Linked DNA regions of Homo sapiens: regions 1, 2, 3, 5, 6 and 7 are each linked to region 4. The links are contacts of gene promoters, found by promoter capture Hi-C in human tissues and cell types (Jung and others, 2019). All regions are on one chromosome and are shown on one strand. The core of a region is centred on a gene start or on the middle of the fragment in contact, and the rest is flanking DNA. Distances in the headings are between cores, read along the strand shown. Region 1 overlaps ZNF721 (zinc finger protein 721). Region 2 overlaps ZNF721 (zinc finger protein 721). Region 3 overlaps PIGG (phosphatidylinositol glycan anchor biosynthesis class G (EMM blood group)). Region 4 holds the start of MYL5 (myosin light chain 5). Region 5 overlaps PIGG (phosphatidylinositol glycan anchor biosynthesis class G (EMM blood group)). Region 6 holds the start of ZNF721 (zinc finger protein 721). Region 7 overlaps GAK (cyclin G associated kinase).

Region 1 (3,593 bases), core at 329-2,828, 220 kb after region 4:
AAAATGGAACCTTTTTAGGTAGATGTAAATATTTAGTTGTGATGAAAAACATAAAATTGCCTAAAGGTTTTCAAGTGTACAGTCTAGTGGGGTTAAGTACATTTACATTATTTTGAAATGGATCTCTACATTTTGTCTTACAAAAGTAAAGTTTAATACTCTATGAACTATAAACTGCCATTTTTTTCTTTTTCTTCAGCTCTTGAAGAACACCATTTTACTTACTGTTTCTGTAATTTTGACTGATTTTTATATTGTCATTGGTGTAATATTTTTTCTTTCTTTTTTTTTCTTTTTTACTGTCTTCACATAATGTTCTTAGGCTTGGTTTTTGGTTGGTTGGTTGGTTGTTTTGAGATGGAGTCTTGCTCTGTTGCCAGGCTAGAGCGCAGTGGCACGATCTCGGCTTACTGCAACCTCTGCCTCCCAGATTCAAACGATTCTCCTGCCTCAGCCTCCCAAGTAGCTGGGACCACAGGTGTGCACTACCATGTCCAGCTAATTTTGTATTTTTAGTAGAGACAGGGTTTCACCGTGTTGGCCAGGATGGTCTCGATCGCTTGACCTCAGCTGATCCGCCCGCCTCGGCCTCCCAAAGTGCTAGGATTACAGGTGTGAGCCAGGACAACTGGCCTCAGGCTTTTGTTTTTGTAAGATTGTTGTGTGCTGCGGGGTGAAAGGAGAAGGAAAGACACACACACAATATCTTTAAGGGTAAACAACCTTTATCCCATGTAAATGGCAATGTAGGTATATAAGCAAATGATATAATAAGCAGATTGCAGTGGGAAGGGGAGAAGGGAAAAGAGATACATATATTTACATTCACCAGACTATGGAGGATTCACCACCAGACCGGGAAGCAAAACAGCCTGGGCTCTAGAGTCCACCATTCATCCGTGCACAGATGAGGAGAGGTCTCGTGAAGCTTTGGCGCAGTGTGGGACCCTAGCTCTTTTTGTAATGAGTTGTTTGGCATGAGGCCCAGTCACGAGGGGCTTTTGCACCTGAGCTCAAGGAACACAAAAAGATCAACTTGTTTTTGCAATTGTCTATTGTTTTCAATAACTAACATATAGGAATAGATTGAAATAGAGATTTCTCCAAAACGGCACTGGATGAACGTGTCAAGGGGCTCACACAGCCCATTCCGGGATTTGGTGACCGTTGTTTGTGTCCATGTTCAATTGAGTTCAAATTTAATATTTAACTTTTCCTCCACATTCGGCCTCAGTTTGATCCTCAATTGTAGGAAAATACCCTTACAGATACATGGGGAAGGCATAGTTGATATAGATTACAGATACAGGTAAGCACAGGAGAACTAAAAGCAGAGTTAATAAAAACCACACCCACCATGGCTTTGCAAGGAGAGTGATTGTGAGAATTGTCAGGGATATACACATAACATTCAGTATGCAGTAAGGCTCAAACCCCTCCTTGGGCTGCGGTAAGCATATCTAATGCCATTCAGTTTTGCAACACAACAGTACACAGCTGAGCAAATTCCTCTGACAACAACATAAGTCCAGTGCTACTATCATTAAGAGCTTTGTCTACATGTAAACTTAATATTTTAATTTGCTGCTGAAGCAGGATTGTACCAGCAGCAGGGGAGAATACTGTAGTAGGCTATCACCACCAGGGAGTCCAGCGCATTTGTATGGTGGATGGAATTAATGGCCACCCCCAAGTGTATCTCTCTGTCCATTGTAGGGGCAGGTATCACCACCCGTAGTATCCACATATCCAGAGGGCCCCCCCAGGGGACTGCAATATAGTTACTGTAATCATAGTGTACTAATGTGTTATTAAAGTAGGAAAGAGATTGTGTTTCATTAGGGACAATGCTGTTGATTTGGAGTATGTGTTGACAGTTGTCTGGTGGGAGAAACCCAGAGGAACATTAGAGGAGCCATTTAAGGCCTCCAGACAAAGTGGCGGGTGGGTGGGGAGCTATATGGAATCCGGCCACCAGCACAGCAGGTTCCCAATATATACCGTTCCAGGCATATTGGGCAGGATACCAAGGCTTTTGATGCATGGTGAAGGTGGAGTTCACCTTTCACTTGACTTGGGCATAAATAGATTGCTTGGTTTGGTCATAGGAAGTTCAGGTTGGATTGCAAGTGTTGTTGTTGTGGCCCCATTGATAGTGACATAGCCATTCAGAAATGTTGTCACGGACGATTCTTCAAGGTAGCTCATTCCTGGCGGCCTCTGGCAGCTGGACGCATAGCCGACATTGATTGTGGTTGGCTTCTTCTATAGTGGTGGCTACCCAGTTGATGAATTTATCCTTGGCCTCAGATACAAAGACACATGTGCTGACCATTAGTAGATAGGTTATTCCATTATAATGCCTCTCATTACCAGGCTTGAACATGTAATCCATTCATCCACATTCAAGTTTGCAGTTGTGGTGGAAATTTTGGCCTGTTGATCTGCCAGCTGATTAAATAGTCTGTCAAGAGAAAACAGAGATGCATGAGCATCAACATGGAGAACAGTGATAATGGTGGTGTGTGCCAGGATTCAGGTATCTTCCCAGTATTTTTTTCCCCAAACCTCTTTATTCCCAATTAACCATTTGTTTCATTGCCATTGGGGCAACCAGGTAGTAAGACCATCTGCTACTGACCAAGAGTTGGTATACAACTGACAAATCCCTCTGGCCTCCTCCTAAATAGCTCAGAGGACCATTACTGGTTCAACCAGCTAGCTGCTTCCACCTTTTCCTTCATCAGAAATGCTTATGTTTTCTAACAGGACTGTAAGCCACGGCCTTCTAGCGTCGAGTGCCACCAGTGTATTTGGTGGTCCATTAGTAAACCAGGCATGTTTCTGGTCCTCTGGGCTTAGTTTTTTAAAGGATTTGTCCCATTGGATGGGGGAGGTTTCCTTCCCTAACTGAAGGGCTTGCTCAGTGGTTTTCTGAGCTGGCAAGTTTTGTACATCCTTATGCAAAAGCAGTATCCCCTTTGGTCCTGGCTTAGCCCTATCTTGTGTATACCATTTCCATTTTATAATGCTGCTTTCTTGAGTGTGCCCTATCTGGTGAGTATTGGGGAAACTCATGACCCAAGTCATAATAGGAATTTCAGGCCTCATAAAGACCTCATGGTTGAAGCAGAGGTCCTCTGTTTCCAGCAAAACCCAATAAAAAGCTAACAATTGCTTCTTGGAAGGGGTATAAGCTTTGCCAGCCTATGGCAGTTTCTGGGTCCAAAACCCCAAAGGTACCCTCTTCCCACCTTGTTTCTGCCTAAGACTCCAATTAGCATGTTGATCTAGGACAGCTACTTGCAGTTCTACTGGCCTGTTTCGTATGGGCCATAGATCTGGGGTCAGTTGCACCGCTTGTTCAGCTTGTTGAAAAGCCACGCTCTCTTTCTGTCCCCAGTGAAAGTCATAGCGTTTTCTAGTGACTGCACGCAGAGGTTGTAAAATGTTACCCATGTGGGGCATATGATGTCTCCACAATCCAAACAAGCCAATAAATTTCTGGGCCTCCTTTTTAGTGGTAGGGGTTGCAAATTCTAGTATTTTAGCCTTAGCCTTTTGTAAAATGGACTATTACCGTGTATTTCAGA
Region 2 (4,069 bases), core at 211-2,710, 200 kb after region 4:
TTTCTCTAGCCGAGTAGTACTATAATGGGTCCAGGTGGAGGAGCATCACCGTTAACAGGAGACTTGATAAAAGACGCTAACTCATGGACTCTTTTCAAACCTGCAAAATTTTGGTACAGTGAGGCCTTTAACATCAAATAATTGATATGCGCATTGAAGCTTGAGAGACAGTGCTTAGCTAAGTGACTCTCAGCCCAGTCTTCCCGTAGTGAAGTGAAATCATCACCTGTGCCCTCCCCTCACATCCTGTCTATTGTTCTGGGTGGAAACATTTCTGTTTTTTAAATTAAGTTCCTCGCATATTATAGCAAGGCCAAGGTCAAGCATGAGGACTTCCAGATATTTTCATGAGAGGTGAGTTCAACCTGTTTTCCAGGAGGTCACAGGGCCTACTCTGCTTGGTTTTGGTAGGGGCAGGTCAGTGTAGCCCATTATTTTTATTGCAGGAACAGAAACTGTTGGAATGCCTTCCTTTTTCCGCAGAGCTATAGAATACTTTAGAGAACATTACTGTGTTGAAAGTTGTTTTATCAGATAATCCCAGTCAGTCACATGTCAGAACTGGTTCTCTTAACACATTTCACCTGTAGTCAAATTAAGAACTCTGTCACTTGATACATATGTATTTTCAGGAACCCTTAACATTCAGGGATGTGGCCATAGAATTCTCTCCAGAAGAGTGGAAATGCCTGGACCCTGCCCAGCAGAATTTGTATAGAGATGTGATGTTGGAGAACTACAGAAACCTGGTCTCCCTAGGTGAGGATAACTTTAATGCATAATTCCTAATACTCCCTCTGAGTTTTATTTTCTATTTTTGTAGAATGTCTTTTGAGATATATCTATATAAAAATGTGTGTCTCACACACACAGCTATGTAAGTTATATATGTGTATAGTAAATTCTTAACATTGTTGATAGATTCTCAGAAACTGTAAGTGAAGCAACATATCATTTAGGAAAATGAATTTTAGGGCTGGGTGCAGTGGCTCACGCCTGTAATCCCAGCACTTTGGGAGGCTGAGGTGGGCAGATCAGGAGGTCAGGAGTTTGAGACCAGCCTTGCCAACATGGCAAAACCCTGTCTCTACTAAAAATACAAAAAACTAGCTGGGCATGGTGGCAGGTGCCTGTAATCCAGCTACTTGGGAGGCTTAGGCGGAGAATCACTTGAACCTGGGAGGCAGAGGTTGCAGTGAGCCGAGATTGCGCCATTGAACTCCTGTCTGGGAGACAAGAGCAAAACTCCGTCTCAAAAAAACCAAAAAACAAAAAATAATAATTTTAGCAAAGTTTAATTGATACAAACGAGTTATGTTTGGTATATAGCAACATTGCTTCATATAAAGTTGCAGTTTTCAAGAACCTGTTTTGAACATTAAGTGAGGACTTACTCTTCATCTGTGTTTGTGTGACATGGATTTTTCTGTTAAATAAAAATTGTTTAACTATATTTAATGTGTACAATGTAATGATTTGATATGCATATATTTTGTAATATATGCATATATTTTATTGTAAAGTAAAATATAATCAAGTTGATCAACATATCTATTACCTCATATAGATCATGATTTTTTTGGTAATAAGAACACTTAAGGCCTAGTGTCCTAGCAAATTGTAAGCATACATTACAGTATTATTAATTATAAATGGAATACTGTTTTGCTAATCTAATGCTAATGTACATTAGCATTAGGTTTCTCCTTAGGTTTCTCCTTATTCAACTTATTCAACTTATAACTAAAAATTTATACTCTTTGAACATCTCATATTCCCACCCTTAGGCACTAACAATCGCCATTCTACTTTCTGCTTTTATGAGTTTACATTTTTAGATTTACCCGTCTATGTAAAAAGAAGCAGTTTCTTTGTCTGTCTGTGTTTGGCTAATTTCATTTAGCATCATGTCCTCCAAGTCTATCCATGTTGTAAAAGACTAGATTTTCTTTTCTCTTATGGCTGAATAATATTCTACTGTGTATATATACACTCTATATTTTGGCTATTGTAAAAATACTACAATGAACATGGGGCTGAAGATATTTCTTCAAGGTGTTAATTTAATTTCCTTTGGTAGTATGACCAGAAGTGGTATTGCTGGATTATATGATATGTCCATTTTTATTTTTTACTGGTTTTTATGATGATTTTATCAATTTACATCTCACTAACAGCATACAGCATATACCTTGTATGTATGTCTTTGGGAAAAAAAATCTAACCTTTTGCCCATTTTTGAATGGGTTATCATCATTATTATTGTTTTGCTTTGAATTGCAGAAGTTTCTTAAACATTTTGGATATGGATATTAACTTCTTTTTTTTTTTTTTTGAGACAGAGTCTTCCTCTGTCACCAGGCTACAGTGCAGTGGCATGATCTCAGCTCACTGCTAACTCCGCCTCCTGGGTTCAAGCAATTCTCCTGCCTTAGCCTCCCGAGTAGCTGTGATTCCTGGTGCACACCACCACACCCAGCTAAGTTTTGTATTTTTTAGTAGAGGTGGGGTTTCACCATGTTGGCCAGGATGGTCTCGATCTCTTGGCCTCCCAAATTGCTGGAATTACAGGTGTGAGCTGCTGCGCCCAGCCTTCTATTTTATTTTATTTTATTTTTTGAGACACAGTTTTGCTCTTGTTGCCCGGGCTGGAGTACAGTAGCATGATCTCGGCTCACTGCAATCTCTGCCTCCTGGGTTCAAGCGATTCTTCTGCCTCAGCCTCCCAAGTAGCTGGGAATTACAGGCATGCACCACTAGACTTGGCTAATTTTGTATTTTTAGTAGAGATGGGGTTTCTCTATGTTGGTCAGGCCGGTCTCGATCTTCTGACCTCAAGTGATCCTCCCGCCTTGTTCTCCCAAAATTAACTTGTTATCAGGTATATCGCTTGCAAATATTTCTATCCTGTAGAGTTTTTAGAAATTTTGTTTCTCTTTGCTGTGAAGAAGCAGTTTACTTTGATACAATCCCACTTGTTTGTATTTTTTGTTGTTGCTTTGCTTTTGATGGCATATCAAAAAATTATTGCCAAGACCAGTATCAAGGTTTTTCCATATGTTTTGTTCAGGAGTTCTAAGGTTTTTGTCTTACGTGTAAGTGTTTCATTTTGAGTTAATTTTGGGGTATGGTATAAGACAATGATCTACTTTTGCCAGGCACAGTGGCTCACGCCTGTAATCCCAGCACTTTGGGAGGCAGAGGCAGGTGGATCACGAGGTCGGGAGATGGAGACCATCCTGGCTAACGTGGTGAAACCCTGTCTCTACTAAAAATACAAAAAATTAGCTGGGCATGGTGGCGGATGCCTGTAGTCCTAGCTACTCGGGAGGCTGAGGCAGGAGAATGGCGTGAACCCGGGAGGCGGGAGCTTGCAGTGAGCCGAGATGGCGCCACTGCACTCCAGTCTGGGCAACAGAACGAGACCATCTCAAAAAAAAAGTTCTACTTTTATTCTTTTGTTTGTGGCTCTCCAGTTTTTCTAGCACCATGTATTGACAAGACTATAATTTCTGAATTGTATATTCATGATCCCCTTGCCAAAATTCGTTGACCTTGTATGCATGGATTTGTTTCTGGGCTCTCTATTCTGTTCATTGGTTTTTGTATGTGTGTTTATGCACATGCCATACTCTTTTGCTTACTACAACCTTTACATAAAGTTTAAAATTAAGAAGTATGATGCCCCTAGCTTTGTTCTTTCTCACGATGGCTCAGATTATTTAAAGTTGTTTAAGGTTACACTTAAATTTTACAATTGTGTTTTCTATTACTGTGAAAAATGACACTAAAATTTTGATAGGGATCGCGTTTGAATCTACAAATCACTTTCGATAATATACTTTGACAATATTAGTGATCCTAATGAAATATGTGTTTGTGTCTGCTTCAATTTCTGTCATTATTGTATTTAGTGTATACATTTATTGTTATACACTAGATTTTGTGCTTTATTGTATTTAATGTATAAATTTTTTATTTCATTTGTTAAATTTATTTTGAATTTCTTATTTTTATAGTATTGTAAATTGAATTTTTTTCTTTTTTTTGGGAAATTTTGTTGTTACTT
Region 3 (3,656 bases), core at 705-3,204, 140 kb after region 4:
ACCCACCTAGAAGATGGCGGCTTGCTGTTCCCACCACTTTAGCAAAGAGCCATTTGCGCTGCAGGGGAGCAGGCAGCCCGGGGTGCCAGCCCCTGGAACAGAGGGTCGCCAACCACTCAAGGCCACGTTTTTGACCTTTTGGAAACATATTTTCTCTGTCTACAATTTAGACCTGGTTATAGTTTTCCTACTCTACTGAAACAAAATAGAAACCATGAGTAAAACTTGATGCTTTAAACTTTTAAAAGGGAAGAAGAAAACCCTATAAAATGAAGGAGAAATGCTTCTTGACTAGGAAAAATATCATGATACTCTCCAGTTGATCAAAATGCTTTCACCTCACTTAATATTTGTCTTTTTCCCTCCCAAACACAAACGTGCCTGGCTGTGTAAGAGATGAAAAGTGCCTGGTCCATCAAACCGCAATCTGCAAGCACCAGGGCAGCTGCAAGGCCGAAGACCAAACCTACAGAGAGAGGAGCCGGGCAAGTACTTCCAGCCCTCCGTCTCCAGCTGGCCACTGGGAGGTGTGCCGTCCACCCAACAGGTGCTTGATCACGCCGCGCACAGCTGTAGCACATCCGTTCTCCAGGGCAGAGGCAGATGCACCTCCACGCGCTCACGCCCGCTTGTCCTGACACCTGACCACACGACGTGCTGACAGCCCACCCCAGACGGCCGAGGACGGCGTCTCCTGTTTCTGTAAGGCCAGTGTGAGCACGCGGCTGGCCTCAAAACCAAGTCAGAGAAAGACGTCCCAGGGCAGCTGCTGAGACAGGCGGACGCCGAGCAGGGGTCTCGTGGCAGATGTTTGTTTTTATGCAGAATCGAAGTCTGGAAGGACGTCTCCACACAGCGCCGCCACAGTGGGTGTCTCCCAAGCTGGTCTGTTGGTGGCTTCCGCCCGCAGAGCCTCAGCTTTCTGCTGTGATGACAAGCTCAGCGGTGACTGTAAATTACGGGGGTCTGTCCACAGACTGCCCCAAAGTGGGCGTGTCAAGCGTCCACAGGCACCTGAAGAAAAGGCAGGTGGATCTCAGGCATTCCTGTCCCCGGGAAGCTTGCAGTCTGGCCAGGGAGCGATTCTCCCCTTGGAAAGGCTCCATGTCCGCTGTGGGAAGGCACGCGCCTATCACTGCTGAAGCAAGGCCAATGCTCCCCCGACCCCTTACGGAAACCTGTGAGCGACTGAGGGGTCCAGCCCGGGCCCGCCGAGTCTGCGGGGCACGAACACTTCCACCATGGTGGACGGTTCCTCTGGCTCCGAAGCACTCATGCTGTGAGAGCCTCAACACAGGACGTGAGCGGCGAGGGGCTCCTTTCAGGGTGGGAAAAGCTCAAAGGCAGGCACGGGTGTGCGTGCCTGGGTGCGTGGGCCCTGCCCGCATGTCCTGTAAAGGGCTCCTCAGTCCTGTCAGCCCGAGGACACCTCTGCGGAATGTCGACAGGGGGCTGGGCATCTGGGTCTGGAGGCAAGGCCAAGGGTCCCTGTGGCCTGGGTCTCAGGAGCTGGTCTGGGGAGGGGAGTGAGGCGGGGAGAGGACCTGCGTGGAGCTGAGAGGATGACCTGGTGAAGGAGGCTGTGGAGCAGAAGCCAGAGGGCGGAGCGGGACCACAGAAACGTGCAGATGCTCTGTGGAGTCGCCGGCAGCTCGGCAGGAGAAGCCTCCAAGTGTCCTGGGAGGGCTGGCACGGGGGCTCAGCAGTCAGCACCGCGAGAGCGACGGTTCAGTCATGGGAGGACGTAGGAGCCCTCCAGCCTCACTGCTCAGCGGAGAGGCCACAGCGCGCTCCCTGGGGCTCCCGGCAGGACTGGGGCCTCCGGTCACCACAGGACACACGCAAAGCTCTGGCTGACCTGCCCAAAGCCACCCAGAAAGTGCGGGAGGCTGGTCCAGTCAGTGTCCCAGACGCTCGCCTGCCCGGGAGGAGGCCGGGCCGCGGTGCGCGGTTTCAGCACACGCAGAAATGCATAGGCGCTGCGGGGATTCGTGACTGTGGCTGGCAGCAGGGACAAGCGTGGAGCACGGGGCACTCTAGTAGATGCCGCAGGGGCCACTAGCCCCTCCAAAGGCTGTGAACGCTTCCAAGTGTCCCCCATTGAGCTCCCAGCAACTCCCGTTTTACAGATGGGAAAACCAGGCACATGTGAGTCGAATAACTTTGCAGGCCCTGGGGTCTCTGCCAGACCAAGTTGGGAGGTACAGAATCACCCACCCCCGCCACACTCCACTCAGCACCTGACTCCGCCAGGCCAGGCACTGAGGCTGCTATGGTGAACAGAGCGGGTGAAGCCCCTGCCTCACAAAGCCTCCTTTCTTGGGGGAGCAAGAAACATACGATGAGGAAGCAGAGAGTGTGCGGCGGTGGGAACGCTGCAGAGAAGACGGGCGTGTGGATGGGGAGCTGCACCCTTGATCTGGGTTTCCCCGGGAGAACTTCTGCACAAAACCGCCAGGAGACGGGCATGTGGATGGGGGGCTGCGCCCTTGATCTGGGGTCCCCCGGGGGGAACTTCTGCACAAAACCGCCAGGAAACGGGTGTGTGGATGGGGGGCTGCACCCTTGATCTGGGATCCCCCGGGGACATCTGCACAAAGCTGCCAGGAGATGGGGATGTGGATGAGGGGCTGCACTGCACCCTTGATCTGGGGTCCCCCCGGTGGAACTTCTGCACGAAGCTGCCAGGAGACGGGTGGGTGTTGGAGAGGAGACCTCAGGCTCACTGGAGGGAACGAGGTGGACCAGGCAGGAGAGCATGGAGGGCAGGCCAGACGCAGCTTGAAGGGACTTCTCAGCGACAGGGGACGGGGCTCACGTCTCTGAACTTCCCTGTGCCCCCCACCCTGTTTTTCCAACCCAAATCAGCTTATGTGTGGAAGGGACATGCCCCTAGCTACTCAAGGACGACTCAGAAGAGCCACGGCCCTGGCCAGGAGCCTTCTCCAGGGTCCTGCGCGCTCCAGCAGGGTCTCTGGGGGCCGAGAGCCGTCTTTTATCTTCATGTCCCCAAAGGGGAAGGACGACCCGCCCTCCATCTGGCCACCAGCAAACAGAAAAACCTGGAGTGGCGGGAAAAGGAATTTTCCTTCCTGTGTCTAGAAACCATGTGCTGGTGTGACCTGGGCAGCCCAGCGAGGCCCCGTCAGACCCAACCCTGGGGAGCCCGGCGAGGCCCCGTCAGACCCGACCCTGGCCCTACACGGACACCTCAGGCCGGCTTCTGGCCCTTGAGCTTTGGACCGTTCCCTATTTAAGGAAAAGAAAACTGTTGAAAAGACTGTTGGACCCATGGAGCTTAGACCCCCTTGCATCTGGAACAAAGTACGACCCTTAAAACCAGGCAGCCGGCCCCCAGAACTGTGCTGACGGCAGAGAGGCGCCTCACCTGCGTGTTTCTGAGCTCAGGAAGTGCACTAAGTGGCTGGCCCACAGCACAGGCCCTGCGTACGTCCCAAACGCTGTCAGGAGCACGGCTGGGATTTCCACGTAGGTGTCTAAGCCCACGAAGCCTGCGGAGATGTCCACGGTGGCAATGTTGTTGGAGTTGCCCTGGAATACAGGAGAAGAGCTGACAAAGGCCTCACAACACGTGGCATCAACAGCCACGATGTTAGCGTGAGCCACGATGTTAGCGTGAACTGTGTAGGCAGCCC
Region 4 (3,506 bases), core at 336-2,835:
GGCTTCCTCAGCGAGCAGTAGACACGGGGAGGGCTGGAGTTTGCTTCTGGCCCCCTGAGGACAGGGTTCAGGCAGAGGCCTCAGGCAGGAGTCTTCAGGGACTGCCAGCCAACCTCACAGAAGCTGGAGAAAAGATCAGGTGGCCCTACAGCAAGTACCTAACCTTTTTGGCGCCTGGGACAGGTTTCACGGAGGACAGTTTTTCCGTGTTGGGGAGGAAGGTTTCGGGATGAAACTATTCCACCTCAGTTCATCAGGCATTAGATTCTCACCAGAGCGCAATCCAGATCCAAGTGCGCAGCTCACAGTAGGGTTCACGCTCCTATGGGAATCTGATGCCCAGGCTGATCTGAAAGTGGGTGGAGCTCGGGCAATCATGCTCCCTCACCTCGTCCTGTGCTGCCCGGTTCCTAACGGGCCACAAGCTGGTACTGGTCTGCACCTGGGGGTTGGGGACCCCTGCCCTATAGGACTGGCCTTGGTATACCCAGCTCAGGAAACAGAGCCCAGTGACTTCCTAGTTTCTCAGCCAGAGAGGCCCAGGCCCTGGACCCCAGAGCAAGCCAGGAGAGGGGGCAGAGGCGACTTAGGCCCGGACAGGTAGCCCAGGCCGCCAGGATCACGGGTCCTCCCCATGCTTGCTTCAAGAGTCCTGGAGTTTGTGATGCTGCACCTTAGCGAGACCCGAGCCATAGTTCTCCAGTTGCTTCTGCCTGTAGCAGTGCAGGGCCAGGAGGGGACACAGGAGGCCTTGCGTCACTACTGCATGGGGCCAAAGGGGGCCCGAGGGTGGCCCAGCACGGGCAGCATGGCTGCCGCCAGGAAGACCCAGAACGTGGAGGGGGTGCCAGGCTCCTGCCTAGACTCCAAGCCTGGTGTCCATGGGGCTGGCGGGTCAGCACTTCGGGCACAGCGGGGAGGCTGCATAGGCACCGCAGGCCCCATCTCTGGGCAGCTGTGGGAGACACACAGCTACCGGGAGGTGGACAGAGGCCAGCAAAGACCAGTGTGGGGCTCAGTGGTCCCCAGGCCTGGGCCGGGGCAGGCCCTTGGAGCCGTGGAGTCCTGAGGCCTGGAGTCGGGGGACCCAGGGAGCAGCCTCTGTTGGGGGCTGGTCTTCCCAAGAAGATCCCAGCCCCTCTTCGGGACAGAAGTGATGGGGCATCCTGGGGTGAGGAAGCTCCAGCTCCGGGATGAAGGGCGCCCCGTGCTCCCGGGCAGAGCAGCCGCAGGAAGAGGGGCCTGGAGGCCATGCTCCCGCGGGCCGCGGAATCCAACGCGGCCCGGCCGGCGACAGACACTACTGCCTTGTAGGAGAAGGACCTGCCCGGGGAGCCACCTGCACTCGGCTCACACTCCGCTCCCAGGACCCCCAGGTCCCTGCCCAGGCCACCCTCGGGTGGGCGCGGTCCGCGGGGCTGGACCCGCCCGAGCCGCCCTGACCTCAGGCCTCCGACGCTCCGCGCAAGAAGACAGAGTGCGCCCCGGCCCGCAGTCTGGGGTGTGGACACACGGCCAGGACGCGGACGGCGGGGCCTCGGCAGCAGCGCGGGGAAACAGCGGACCCCCAGCCCTGCGGGGAAAGGAAACCCCCCGCCCACTCGGCGCAGATCCCGCCTCACGCAGCAACTGCGCAGGCGCAGCCGATGATCCTCCGCGCACTCCCCAGCCTTTGTGCGCGTGCGCCTCACGTGACGTCACCGCCGCGCGGGGGCGCGCAGTCACCCTTCGGTCGCCAGGGGGCGCGGCCCCCCGCTCTCTCGCCGCTGACGGCGCATGCGTGCGCCCAGCTCCGCCTTTGCCTCCAAGGCTTTGCTGGCTTGTGCGGCATCCTGCTCCGTCTGCAGGTTGTGCTTCCGGTGCGGAGGTCAGGGACAAGATGGTGCCACCGGTGCAGGTCTCTCCGCTCATCAAGGTGATCCAGGCTTTGCAGCCGCCGCCCAGTGCTCTGGGCCCCCCCGTGTCCCGCCCCGCAGCTCCGACCCCGCGGGCTGCGACCCCCGGCCCCCGCCCCCATGATCCTCGCCCCGTGACCCTCGCCCGGCGACCGGACCCCCACCCCTCCTGCGACCTCTGCCCAGCGACCCCGCCCCCCCTCCTCCCGCGACCCCCGTCCCGCGAGCCCCGTTTCGCGCCGCCTCTGACCAACCTCTTTCGCAGCTCGGCCGCTACTCCGCCCTGTTCCTCGGTGTGGCCTACGGAGCCACGCGCTACAGTGAGTGACCGCGGGCGGGGCCGGGGCGGGGTCTGCTCGGCTTTCCTGTGGAGCTCCTGTGCTATTTGGAGAACTCCAGCTCTGGAAGGGGGCTTGGGACGCATGCGAGGCTGCAGGACCGTGTCCTCCACCGAGCGTGACCCCGATAGTGGAATCAGCTCACCCAAAGCTCAGGCTTCTGAGGCCCGGGCGGGGGACTCGAAAACGGCTGCTTCTTGGTGAAAACGGGTGCTAAATGGCTGTTCGAGTGCTGAGGTCTTGATGGGAGGCAGTCCCTGTTCGCAGAGGACGAGTGAGCCAGTGCGTGAGCGGGTGGGCAGCAGGGGCCCTGTAGCCTCTGGGTTGGACTCGTCAGGGTGAAGGTCAGGCGTTGACTCGCATTAACATAAAGAGCGGGAACAGCAGGTGCGTCTGGTTTACAGCGTCGCTGAAGATACCTTGACCTGTGGACTCAGTTCCTTTTGTACAGCATTTCCAGTGAATTTTATTCTCCTGCATTCCGCCAAACAGATTACCTAAAACCTCGGGCAGAAGAGGAGAGGAGGATAGCAGCAGAAGAGAAGAAGAAGCAGGATGAACTGAAACGGATTGCCAGAGAATTGGCAGAAGGTACGAGTGACACTGGCTCTTATAGATTGTCCCTCCCAGGTTTGTGCAGGGATAAGGAAAATGGAGGAGGACATTTAAGCAGAGCTAAGTAGATGCGGATTGTTTAAAAATGGGGAAGCTGGCCAGGCGTGGTGGCTCATGCCTGTATCCCAGCACTTTGGGAGGCCAAGGCGGGCAGATCACCTGAGGTTAGGAGTTCAAGACCAGCCTGACCAACATGGTGCAACCCTGTCTCTACAAAAATTAGCCGGGCATGGCCCGGTGCGGTGGCTCATGCCTGTAATCCTAGCACTTTGGGAGGCTGAGACAGGCAGATTGCCTGAGCTCTGGAGTTCGAGACCAGCCTGGGCAAGATGGTGAAACCCCATTTCTACTAAAATACAAAAAATCAGCCGGGCATGGTGGCAGGCACCTGTAATCCCAGCTACTCAGAAAGCTGAGGCATGAGAATTGCTTGAACCCGGGAGGCGGAGGTTGCAGTGAGCTGAGATCACGCCACTGCACTCCAGCCTGAGCAGCAAAGTGAAATTCTGTCTAAAAAAAATTAGCCAGGCATGATGGCGGGTGCATGTAATCCCAGCTACTCAGAAGGCTGAGGTGGGAGAATCGCTTTAACCTGGGATGCAGAGGTTGCAGTGAGCTGAGATTGCGCCATTGGGTGACAGAGCGAGACTCCGTCTCA
Region 5 (3,736 bases), core at 1,237-3,736, 160 kb after region 4:
CATGAACTCATACGCCTGCAGGCCCGCCCCACTGCTGCCGGCACCAGGTCCCTGAGCGTGAACCCACACGCCTGCAAGCACACCCGACTGCTGCAGGCACCAAGTCCCTAAGCATGAACCCACACGCCTGCAGGCCCACCCCACTGCTGCCGGCACCAGGTCCCTGAGCGTGAACCCACACGCCTGCAGGCCCACCCCACTGCTGCAGGCACCAAGTCCCTAAGCATGAACCCACACGCCTGCAGGCCCACCCCACTGCTGCCGGCACCAGGTCCCTGAGCGTGAACCCACACGCCTGCAGGCCCACCCCACTGCTGCAGGCACCAAGTCCCTAAGCATGAACCCACACGCCTGCAGGCCCACCCCACTGCTGCCGGCACCAGGTGCTCTGCACTAAGTGCCAGTAGCCAGCAACACTAGGCGGCTCGCTCGTTTCACCTCCCTAATGACCCTATGAGGCAGGGATGAGCATCAGAACTGTTATCCAGAGGAGGCAACTGAGACACAGAGGGTGAGTCACGCACCTGGGCCACAGTGCCAGTGGGTAAAAGCTGCAAATGAAACTCAGGCAGTCTGGTTCCAGGGCTGGCATCCTTCATTGCTACACCTACCACCCTGGATGGGGGGACGCCTGTGTCCACACCCCACCGCCTATCAGAGAGTCACAAAGCTATGGGGGTGCACCTGTGCATGCATCGAAACAAATATCCATGGAGCGTGGACGACGTGCCAGGCACTGTGCCAGGCGCTGTGCCAGGGGAGACACAGCATGGCGAGCAAGCAGGTGCAATCCTTGCCTGCTGGGGCTTGGATCCAGTAGGGCTCACAGACACGCACGCACGCACACAAGCGTAATTACAAACTGTGACTGCATTACAGCTGTAATTACAAGTTTCCCAGGAAGGAAAAGTAGAGGGTATCAATGAGGGATTTTTGGTAATGGGGAGGAACTGATTTTGGATTGGGAGTGGGCGCTGGACCAGGAAGGTCTGATGTTTACGCTGAAATGTAAACGGTACCCAGGAATTCGCCAGGCAAAAAACTGCAGGAAGAGCATCAAGCTGATGGGAACAGCATGTGCAAAAGTCCAGAGGTGAGAAAAAGCCGGTCCCACTACACTGAGAGAGCCGGGTGGGCACAAAGCCTCCAACAGACTGGACGCCACCGAGGGACTGCACGGGCCTGGCTGTGGGTTCTAAAACGTATTTCAGTGTCAGAACACATACCCCATTTTGTTTTAGGAAAAAGGATCCCCGACGGTGTAGACAATGGGCCGCCAGGGGGGGTTCCAGACGCTGTGGCTGTGTTTTCAGTCAAGGGAGGCTCCTGCATTCCTTTAACAGGCTGGTTTCCTCTCATATCCACTGTGGTTCCCATCTTCCCCCAGCCACTACTTCTGGAACAGGCAAATAACCCTTCCATTGTTGTTTTGATTTTGTTGGTATCTTTTTTGTTTTGTTTTTTGAGATGGAGTCTCGCTCTGTCACCCAGGCTGGAGTGCAGTGTCGCCATCTCGGCTCACTGCAAGCTCCGCCTCCCGGGTTCACACCATTCTCCTGCCTCAGCCTCCCGAGTAGCTGGGCCTACAGGCGCCTGCCACCATGCCCAACTAATTTTTTGTATTTTTAGTAGAGATGGGGTTTCACTGTGTTAGCCAGGACGGTCTTGATCTCCTGACCTTGTGATCCCCCCGCCTCAGCCTCCCAAAGTGCTGGGATGACAGGCGTGAGCCACCACACCTGGCCAATTTTGTTGGTGTTTTTATCACTCTTAGCGTAGAAAAAAGGACACAGTAACAAAACAAGCAATATGCAAAAGCTACCAAACTCATACTATTTTTTAAAAAACGAAAAGCACAAGTCACTGTTGTCCCTGGTCTTGACTAAAATGGCTCCATGGCCAAAGTCCTCCACCTCACAGGGTGAGAGCTGGTGCTCGGTGGGGCCTCCAGACACTCATCACATCCGGTTCCCAAGCACTCCTTGGCTGGCCAGGTTTGTCTTCCACACGTGACTCTAGGAGGCCGGTTTACATCTCAGCGCAAGCTTGTGGACGTTCACTCTATTTGGTAGTAATAGTATCCCTCTACTTCAAGTAGGGAAATCTGCCAACACCACATTAACTGCTGCCCCCAAATAGGAGTCGACTTCCTCCGGGCTCTCAAAGGAGTCCCAGTATCAAACATGATTCTTGATGAACGCGGCTGCGTCAGAGTCGATTGTCTGAAGACATCCCAGGGAGACAAACGTTCCTCTCCTGGACCCTTCCTGTAGCTGTCTCCTGGCACCTCCCTTGGCCCCACACCTGCCTCAGGCAACTCCACCTCCTACTCCCATTAGAGTCGCAGTGTCTGCTGCCTAGGGCTCTCGCCTGCCTAGTACCAGCCAGGCCTTCCCCCACTCTCCATCTGACGAAGCCACTCATCACCCTCCATGGCCAGATCCAAAGCTCAGTTCTCAATTCCTGATTTTATTCAATACCAACCTTTGACGCAGCTGCCCACTCCATGCTTCCTGAAATTACTTCTTTACATGGCTTCCTGGACACCAACACCCCCACCCACAAGCACCTGCCTTGCAGAACTGTTCCTCCTAAGTCGTGCCCTCCTGAGGAAATTATTACTCTCTTTGCTTTCAGCTGAAAGCCCCGGAGTCGTACCTAACGCCTCTGGTCTGCTCGTACCCAATATCGCAGCACGTGAGCAAATCCTGTCTTCATGACCTTCAGAATCTTTCCAGAATGCAACCACTTCTTCACCACCCTTGCCTGGGCCCTGGCCACCCTCACCTCTCACAGAAGTACAGCCACTGCCTCCTGACTGGTCTCCTCCTACAGCACAAAGCAGAATCCTCCACGAGGGCGCCTGAGACAGCCTTCGAAAATGCAAGTGGGAGACTCTGGCTCTCACCAAACCCTGCAGCAGCTCCCCATTTAACTCAGAATACAAGTGAAAGCCCTTCCAGCGCCCAGTGGCCCTCACCCCTTAATGCCATCTCCTCTGCCCTGCCCTTGCCACTCTGGCCCCTGCTCTGACCATCCCCTGAATGTGCGCCCCATGGAGGACCCTGTCTGCTGCCCCCACAGCCTGTAATGTGCCCTCCCAGATGGCCAGCGGCCAGCCTGCCCCAGTGGCTCCCCCACCCGCTTCACTTCCCACCCCACGCCTGTTTATTCCTTCTTTTTTTTTTTTTTTTTTTTTTTTGAGGCAGAGTCTTGCTCTGTTGCCAGGCTGGAGTGCAGTAGCGCGATCTCAGTTCACTGCAACCTCCACCTCCAGGGTTCAAGCGATTCTCCTGCCTCAGCCTCCTGAGTAGCTGGGATTACAGGTGCCCGCCACCATGCCTGGCTAATTTTTGTATTTTTAGTAGAGACGGGGTTTCACTGTGTTAGTCAGGCTGGTCTTCAATTCCTGACTTCATGATCCGCCTGCCTTGGCCTCCCAAAGTGCTGGGATTACAGGCGTGAGCCACCGCACCCAGCCCTGTTTATTCTTTTCCTAAGGTACTCGTCACCATCGGCCATCGATCACTTCCTTTTCTCTCCTCCCTCTGGAAGGTTCCATGAGGGCAGAGCCTCGTACCTGCTCTGTCTCCAGTGCCTGTTAACAGCCTCTCATTCATAACAAGATCCTGGTAAATAGTTGTTGAATGAATAAATTTATGAAAGAACTTTAGATAACTGCATCTGAGGGTGCTGCCAATGGTGATAGTTCAAAGTTCTAAGAAAACAGAAACAC
Region 6 (3,485 bases), core at 903-3,402, 180 kb after region 4:
TTGTTGAGTGGCTGTATATCTAAAGACTAAAAGCTACATGAAGGCAGAGATACTATTTTTTCCCCAATTGCATACCCATTGAAGTATCACCACATAGTCGTTGCTCAAAAGTTTTGAGCCAATCAATAAAGGCTTACTTTTTTCTTTACCCACGGTTCTTGGGAAATGCACTATGTACTTCAAAGCTGCTGTCAGTAGGCTGGACACCTGAAGGATATGGTGGAAACAGTGGTAATTGTTGAGGCCGGAACATACTGATTTGATCATTATGTATACTGGTGGATAATTTTGGAGAAGTCACATTTAACTTATCTGAGTTTGCTTTCCTATCTATAAAGTCTAGAGACTGAACTAGATTAACTCTAAAGGCTCCTTCTAAGATTGTAAATGACCCAGTGACGATTAAAGAAGAAAGCAGGTCACCAAGAATGGCATATCTTGGGGTAGGTTAGCCTGGATGATCTTGCTCTAAATCTTTTATATTTGCCATGAAGCATGAGCTTTGGCTACTTGACATGGGGCACAAATGATGGGTCTCAGTTCCATCCCGTGTGAGGCTCCTTCAACATTCTATTGCCCCAGCCAACTGACAGCACAAAATTTCCACTTTCTTAAAATTGCAACTCCAAGCGAAAGACTACAGAGACCCCCTCTAAATCTTCAAAACAGCCAAACCATGATTCATAAAACATTAAGGCAAACTTACCTTGATTCGAGGCATAGTAACTGTAGGTGGCTTTGCTTCAGCCACAAAACTGTGAGATGCTCCTTTTTCCACAAGGTAAGTTGTGTAGGGCATAAATTTCACACCCTTTGACCCAAACACAAAATCATCTCTCAAGGCATCTATCAGAACAATAACAACTTTACTGAAGAGAGGTGGTGGCAGCGTGGTCCAGTTAGAACTGGCTCCTAAGTGTTTGAAAGAAAAAAAAGGAAATTGAACTCTAAACTTTCCTTAGCATCAAGCACCTTCACAATCTAGCTTCTACCTACTTCTCCAGCACATACCCTGCGATATCTACATAACCCAACCCAAAAGGAGGCGACTTGTACTTGGTAGGTAGTGCTGGGGGGAAAGGACGGGGGTTAACAGGAGTAATCTTAGGGACCCACAGTAGCAAGCAGTGAATTATCCTCAGTATGGTGAAGAGTACTGGGGTAGGAGAATCCCTACGTAAGGGTCCTGGAATGGGACATTTAGGGAGCTTGACCTAAAACGCAGAGCTGCAGCTACGGGATGGCTGGGCGTTTACATACTGCGTTTACATGGTCAGCGGCTGGCGATGTGTGCAAGTGGTCCAGAACCAGGGCGCCTTTACTTGCTGTATATGGCTGGGTAGGTGAAGCCTAGGAAGAGGCCTAACGCAGAGAGGCCTTAGCCCCTAGGCAGGGAAAACATCTTGGAGGAATATAAGAGACCAAAACGCGAGGGGATCGGCAGGGGTCTTATCTGTTGTGTGCTAGGGGGCAAAAAGGGCGCCTATAACGGGGAGTGACCCAAAGGCTGCTCAGGAAAGGGGCGGGAGCTCTGGACGAGTAGAAGTGGAGAGGCTGGATCCCAGGTATGGACACAGCTTACTTTGTGGTGATCAGGAAGGAAGGTCGAAGTGGGGCCAGTAGAGGTGGTTGCCACAAAGTTGTAAGAATACAGAAAAGAGACGCTGGAGCGGTTAAAAAAAATTTCTGAGGTGGGGACCATAATGGAAGAGACCACCGGGGAGCGCCGAGAAGAAATCCGAGCAGCGAGGCTCAGAAAAAAGGTCTTCTAGGGGATGTGGGGTCAGGGGAGCGGAGACGCCGGGGAGGGGTCCGTACCAGCCGAGGGTTCGGGCGCTGGGGGCTCCGCTCCGTGTTCCGCTCTGGCAGAGGAACGAACGGGAGCCGGGAAGAATCCCCGAAGGAAGACCGCGATCCCTAGCACCTCGATCGCTACGCAACAGGTAGCGAAAGTCCCGGAGCCCAGCCGCATCGTGGACACGCTAGGCTGGATGCGGAACCGACCCCACCTGGAGCCTCGCCCTGCTGCAGCCGCGCTTCCGGCTCCAGGTAGCCGCCTCTAAGCAATAACGCCAGGCCTTATCGTCGCAGCGACAGTGGCGTCACGTCCGCCGGCGCGCCACAGCAGCGCGTCACTTCCGCCAGCCCGCCACAGCGGGGCGTCACCTCGGACATACGAACAGCGGGCGGTGTTCCCGGCTCCGTGGGGCCGTCTTCCCGGCGAGTCCGCGACGGTCGCCGCCCACGGCGAGGTACGAGGTTTTAAAAAGTTTTTAATTTGGAAGGCAGGGTGCAGTGGCTCACGCCTTTAATCCCAGTACTTTGGGAGGCCGAGGCGGGCGGATCACGAGGTCAGGAGATCGAGACTATCCTGGCCAACATGGTGAAACCCCGTCTCAACTAAAAATACAAAAAATTAGCGGGGCGTGATGGCGGGTGCCTGTCGTCCCAGCTACTCGGGAGGCCGAGGCAGGAGAATCGCTTGAACCTGGGAGGCGGAGGTTGCAGTGAGCCGAGATCGCGCCACTGCACTTCTGCCTGGCAACAGAGCGAGACTGCGTCTCAAAAAAAAAAAAAAAAAGAAAATTCAACCCAATACCTCAGACAACTGGTAAATATCTTAATGATTAACTTCGTTTTAAAGATGCCACATGAGTGAGATCATGAGGTATTTGTCTTTCTGTGTCTTATTTTGCTTACATGATATCCTCAGGTTTATCCGTGTTGTGGCAAATGATAGGGTTTCATTCTTTTATTAGAGCTGAATAGTACTCCATTGTGTATATATACCACATTTTCTTTTTTCTGAAAGGAAAATCTTGGGGCCCCAAAATTACTAAACTAAGGGAAAAGACAAGCTCGGAACTGCTCAGGACAAACCTGCCTCCCATTCTATTCAAAGTCATTCCTCTGCTCACTGAGATAAATGCATATTGATAGCCTCCTTTGGAGAGGCTTATCAGAAACCCAGAAACTGCAACCATTTGTCTGTCACCTACCTGTGACCTGGAAGCCCCCTCCCTGTTCCAAGTTGCCCCCGCCTTTCTGGACAGAACCAATGTCCTTCTTTTTTTTTTTTTTTTTTTTTTTTTCTTTTTCTTTTCAGATGAAATCTCACTCTGTCGCCCAGGCTGGAATGCAGTGGCGTGATCTCAGATCACTGCAACCTCTGCCTCCCGGGTTCAAGCAATTCTCCTGCCTCAGCCTCCTGAGTAGCTGGGATTACAGGTGCGTGCCACCACGCACGGCTAATTTTTGTATTTTTAGTTGAGACGGGGTTTCACCATGTTGGTCAGGCTGTTCTTGAACTCCTGACCTCGTGATCCGCCCGCCTCGGCCTCCCAGAGTGCTGGGATTTACAGGCATGAGCCACCGCGCCCGGCCTGTTTTTTTTTTGTTGGTTTGTTTTTGAGACGGAGTCTCGCTCTGTCGCCCAGCCTGGAGTGCAGTGGCACCATCTCCGCTCACTGCAAGCTCCGCCTCCC
Region 7 (3,977 bases), core at 182-2,681, 240 kb before region 4:
CCTTGTTTCTGATCTTAGGAAGAAAACACGATTAAGTCTTATGTTAGAAGTCAGTTTTTTGTAGTTGTTGTTTCTAAATTTTGTTGGTGATCCAGTGTTCCCTATTCTGCTAATGTTGTTTACTACAGTGATTGATTTTTTAATGTTACACCAACCTTGCATTCCTGGGATGAATACCACCTGGTCATGATGTAGTATCCTTATTATGTTTTGCTGGAATCAATTTGCCAGTATTTTCTTGAGGATTTTTTGTGTCTATGGTAATGAGTGATCTCTTTCCTTAATTTGGTATTTATACCCTTCTTTGGTTAGTGTTATGCTAACTTCAAGCAATGAGCTGGGAACCCTTCTCCTCTATCTAATGAAAGACTTTATAAGCTTGTTGTGATTTCTTCCTTAAGTGTTTGATGTAATTTAGCAGTGGAGCCATCTGTTTTCTATTTTCTATTTCATGGATTTCCATTTACTTCCTTTCATCTGTGTTTTTCCTCACAGATTTATTTATTATTTAAATATTTTAACAGTTGAGATAAAAATGAGATATACAGGCTGCATGTTTTAAATGTTTCGGCACATGTCATGTATGTATGTGTGTGTCACACACTGTATCTGCCACGCTAATCAAGGCAGCAAACATGTGCGTCAGCGCCACGGTCTCCCTCCTCCCCACGGTAACCCTTCGCCCTGCTTTCCTGTTCCCATCCCAGGAAACCACTGATTGGCCTTCTGTTACTATAGATTCATTTGCATTTTCTAGAGTTTTCTGTACACTAACTGTATGTGTATATGTACTCTCTTTTTTTGGCCTGGCATTGGCCTTCTGTTACTATAGATCCATTTGTGTTTTCTAGAGTTTTCTGTACACTGACTGTATGTGTATATGTACTCTCTTTTTTTGGCATGGCATTGGCCTTCTGTTACTATAGATCCATTTGTGTTTTCTGGAGTTTTCTGTACACTGACTGTATGTGTGTGTATGTACTCTCTTTTTTTGGCCTGGCATTGGCCTTCTGTTACTATAGATTCATTTGCATTTTCTAGAGTTTTCTGTACACTAACTGTATGTGTGTGTATGTACTCTCTTTTTTTGGCCTGGCATTGGCCTTCTGTTACCATAGATCCATTTGCGTTTTCTGGAGTTTTCTGTACACTGACTGTATGTGTGTATGTACTCTCTTTTTTTGGCCTGGTCGTTTGTGTTTTCTGGAGTTTTCTGTACATTGACTGTATGTATGTGTATGTACTCTTTTTTCGCCTGGCATCTTTTACTCGGCATACTGCCTTTTCGTGTGTTATTCATGTTGTTGCATGTAACAGCAGTTTCCTCCTTTTTATTGCTAGGTAGTGTTAGAGGTGTGGGTAATTTGTTCATTCACCTGTTGATGGACATTTGGGTTGCTTCCATTTTTAGGCTATTGCACATGAAGCTGCTGTGTAGAAGTCTCTTTACGCACATGTGCCTTCATTTTTCTTGGGTAAATACACAGCAGCGTAATGTCAGGGCTGTATTGTTGATTTATGTTCACCTTTTTAAGAAATCGCCAACATGTTTTCCAGAGTGATTGTACCATTTTCCATTTCCAAAAGCTGTGCATAAGCATTCCAGTCGCTCCACATCCTCAGCGACACTTGGTCTGGGCGGTTTTTAAATGTCAAGTATTCTGCTAGGTATGGGGTCCTATCTTCGCGGTTTAAGTCTGCATTTCTCTAATGGGCAGTGGTGGGACACGTTGTGTACTTGTCACAAGTATATCTTTGGTGATGTGTCTATTCATATCTTTTGCACATTAAAAATTTTGTTGTTTTCTGGGCGTGGTGGCTCACACCTGTAGTCCCAGCACTTTGGGAGGCTAGACCCGCCTGGGCAACTTGGCGAAACCTCGTCTCTTCAAAGAATAAAAAAATTAGCCGGGTGTGGTGACGCATGCCTGTAGTCCCAGCTTCTTGGGAAGCTGAGGTGGGAGGATCACTTGAGCCCAGATGTCGAGGCAGTGGGTTGTGATAGTGCCACTGCACTCCATCCTGGTGACAGAGTAGGACCCTGTCTCAGAAGAAAAAAAAATTGTTGTTACTTGGATTTTTAAAATATTTTCTCGATAGAAGTCCTTTATTAGGTATATGATTTGCAAAACTTAGTAGTGATTTATCTTTTCATCCTCTGACCAGTTTTCAAAAAGCAGAAATTCCTGAAGTCCATTTATCATTATTTTTCTTTTATGGGTCCTGCTTTTGTGCTTATATCTAAAAAATCACTGCCTAACCTTGGGCATGTGGAAGCACAGTTGGTTTTTGTATGTTGCCCTTATATCCAACAACCATCCTGAATGCGTTTGTTATGGTAGCTTTTCTTTAGTAGATTTCACCAGATTTTCTGCATAGATAATCATGTCACCTGCAGATAAAAATAATTTTACTCCTTTTTTCATCTGGATGCCTTTTATTTCTTTTTCTTGACTGATGGCACCGGCGAGAACTTCCTCACAGTGTCGACCATCAGTGGTGAGAACAAGGATCCCCGCCTCCTTCCTGATCTCAGAAGGGAGGATTCGACATTGCACCACGAAATGCAGTGTTCCTGTTGGTCTCTCACAGATGCCGTCTATCAGGCTGGGGAGGTTTCTTTCTGTCCTCGTTTGCTGAGAGTTTTAAATTTCATGATGTAGTTTTTCCACTGCAGAAACCTAAAAGAAAACTAAGCAAATTAGACCCCAAAACAATAGAATTAAATTGATTTTCAAATGTTAAACCAACTCTGCTCCTGATGTCTTGGTGGGCTTGGTTTGCTGTTTTATGAAGAATTCTTGGGTCCACATTCGTGAGTGATGTTGGTGTGTATTCTCTTTTATGTCTTTTCCTCTTTTGGGCGTCGGGGAAGGAGGTCCCCTCTCTTGTTCTGGGTATTGGTGATCTGTCCTCTCTCTCTGGATCAGTCTGTCTAGAATTTATCAGTCTCGTTGGTCTTTGGAGAACTGCTTGTGGTTTTGTTTTTCCTTCTATTGACCTCTGTTCTTAGGTTATTCCTGTCTGTCTCTGGAGTAGAGGAAGTGAAAGGCAGTGGTGTATGCACTGGGGCCGCGCACGCTGGGGCTGAGTGCGGGGGGCCATGTACGCTGGGGCTGAGTGCACGGGGCCGTGTATGCTGGGGCTGTGTGTGTGGGGCCGTGTATACTGGGGCTGTGTGTGTGGGGCCGTGCACGCTGGGGCTGAGTGCGGGGGGCCGTGTACGCTGGGGCTGTGTGTGTGGGGCCGTGCACGCTGGGACTGTGTGTGTTGGCCGTGTGCGCTGGGGCTGTGTGTGTTGGGGGCCGTGTGCGCTGGGGCTGTGTGTGTTGGGGGCCGTGTACGCTGGACCTGTGTGTGTGTGGGGCCGTGTACGCTGGGGCTGTGTGTGTTGGGGGCCGTATATGCTGGGGCTGTGTGTGTGTGGGGCCGTGCACGCTGGGGCTGTGTGTGTGTGTGGGGCCGTGCATGCTGGAGCTATCTGTGTTGGGGGCCGTGTACGTTGGGGCTGTGTGTGTATGGGGCCGTGCACACTGGGGCTGTGTGTGTTGGGGGCCGTGTATGCTGGGGCTGTGTGTGGGGCCTTGCACGCTGGGGCTGAGTGCGGGGGGCCGTGTATGCTGGGGCTCTGTGTGTTGGGGGTGGGGCTGTGCACGCTGGGGCTGTGTGTGTGGGGCCGTGCACGCTAGGGCTGAGTGCGGGGGGCCGTGTACGCTGGGGCTATGTGTGTGGGGCCGTGCACCCTGGGGCTGTGTGTGGGGGGCCGTGCACGCTGGGGCTGTGTGTGTGTGGCCGTGCACGCTGGGGCTGTGTGTGTGTGGGGCCGTGCACGCTGGGGCTGTGTGTGTGTGGGGCCGTGCACACTGGGGCTGTGTGTGTGGGGGCCGTGCACGCTGGGGCTGTGTGTGTGTGGGGCTCTGTGTGTGGGGCCGTGCATGCTGGGGCTGTGTGTGTGGGGGCCGTGCACGCTGGGGCTG

The links. The method cuts DNA at HindIII sites, captures the fragments that hold promoters and counts their contacts. A contact is called where the count stands out against the background at its distance.
Region 1: a contact is called between a fragment that was not itself captured here and the fragment with the promoter of MYL5 in region 4, in 2 of the 25 tissues and cell types used here (dorsolateral prefrontal cortex and lymphoblastoid cells).
Region 2: a fragment that was not itself captured here is called in contact with the fragment with the promoter of MYL5 in region 4 in 2 of the 25 tissues and cell types used here (dorsolateral prefrontal cortex and lymphoblastoid cells).
Region 3: a fragment that was not itself captured here is called in contact with the fragment with the promoter of MYL5 in region 4 in 1 of the 25 tissues and cell types used here (H1 embryonic stem cells).
Region 5: a fragment that was not itself captured here is called in contact with the fragment with the promoter of MYL5 in region 4 in 2 of the 25 tissues and cell types used here (lymphoblastoid cells and mesenchymal stem cells).
Region 6: the fragment with the promoter of ZNF721 here is called in contact with the fragment with the promoter of MYL5 in region 4 in 7 of the 25 tissues and cell types used here (IMR-90 fibroblasts, dorsolateral prefrontal cortex, heart left ventricle and 4 more).
Region 7: a fragment that was not itself captured here is called in contact with the fragment with the promoter of MYL5 in region 4 in 1 of the 25 tissues and cell types used here (lymphoblastoid cells).

Annotation. Positions count from the first base shown.
Region 1 is chr4:452,327-455,919 of GRCh38, reverse strand. The region is part of intron 2 of ZNF721 (zinc finger protein 721); the gene reads left to right. It also overlaps the pseudogene ABCA11P. Among named protein-coding and RNA genes, the nearest start is that of ZNF721, 45 kb to the left of the region's middle. The HindIII fragment of the contact is 4,490 bases long and covers 1-3,593 here.
Region 2 is chr4:469,265-473,333 of GRCh38, reverse strand. ZNF721 (zinc finger protein 721) reads left to right here. Exons shown (of 3, transcript NM_133474.4): 2 at 633-759. The coding sequence starts at 726. It also overlaps the pseudogene ABCA11P. Among named protein-coding and RNA genes, the nearest start is that of ZNF721, 28 kb to the left of the region's middle. The HindIII fragment of the contact is 4,057 bases long and covers 1-3,488 here.
Region 3 is chr4:533,714-537,369 of GRCh38, reverse strand. It overlaps PIGG (phosphatidylinositol glycan anchor biosynthesis class G (EMM blood group)), which reads right to left. Exons shown (of 13, transcript NM_001127178.3): 12 at 3,389-3,552. Among named protein-coding and RNA genes, the nearest start is that of PIGG, 36 kb to the right of the region's middle. The HindIII fragment of the contact is 5,050 bases long and covers 1-3,656 here.
Region 4 is chr4:672,621-676,126 of GRCh38, reverse strand. MYL5 (myosin light chain 5) reads right to left here and starts at 1,585. Exons shown (of 9, transcript NM_002477.2): 1 at 1,444-1,585; 2 at 1-54. ATP5ME (ATP synthase membrane subunit e) reads left to right here and starts at 1,851. Exons shown (of 4, transcript NM_007100.4): 1 at 1,851-1,915; 2 at 2,161-2,215; 3 at 2,726-2,824. The coding sequence starts at 1,880. RefSeq lists enhancers at 1,015-1,084, 962-1,719 and a silencer at 1,295-1,564. The HindIII fragment of the contact is 2,744 bases long and covers 1,312-3,506 here.
Region 5 is chr4:516,321-520,056 of GRCh38, reverse strand. The region is part of intron 6 of PIGG (phosphatidylinositol glycan anchor biosynthesis class G (EMM blood group)); the gene reads right to left. Among named protein-coding and RNA genes, the nearest start is that of PIGG, 19 kb to the right of the region's middle. The HindIII fragment of the contact is 7,094 bases long and covers 1-3,736 here.
Region 6 is chr4:497,823-501,307 of GRCh38, reverse strand. It overlaps ZNF721 (zinc finger protein 721), which reads left to right and starts at 2,152. Exons shown (of 3, transcript NM_133474.4): 1 at 2,152-2,252. PIGG (phosphatidylinositol glycan anchor biosynthesis class G (EMM blood group)) reads right to left here and starts at 2,098. Exons shown (of 13, transcript NM_001127178.3): 1 at 1,819-2,098; 2 at 707-912. The coding sequence starts at 1,972. RefSeq lists enhancers at 1,137-2,000, 1,958-2,437, 2,001-2,866. The HindIII fragment of the contact is 23,753 bases long and covers 1-3,485 here.
Region 7 is chr4:914,349-918,325 of GRCh38, reverse strand. All of the region lies in intron 1 of GAK (cyclin G associated kinase), which reads left to right. Among named protein-coding and RNA genes, the nearest start is that of GAK, 16 kb to the left of the region's middle. RefSeq lists a silencer at 3,019-3,198. The HindIII fragment of the contact is 4,061 bases long and covers 1-3,461 here.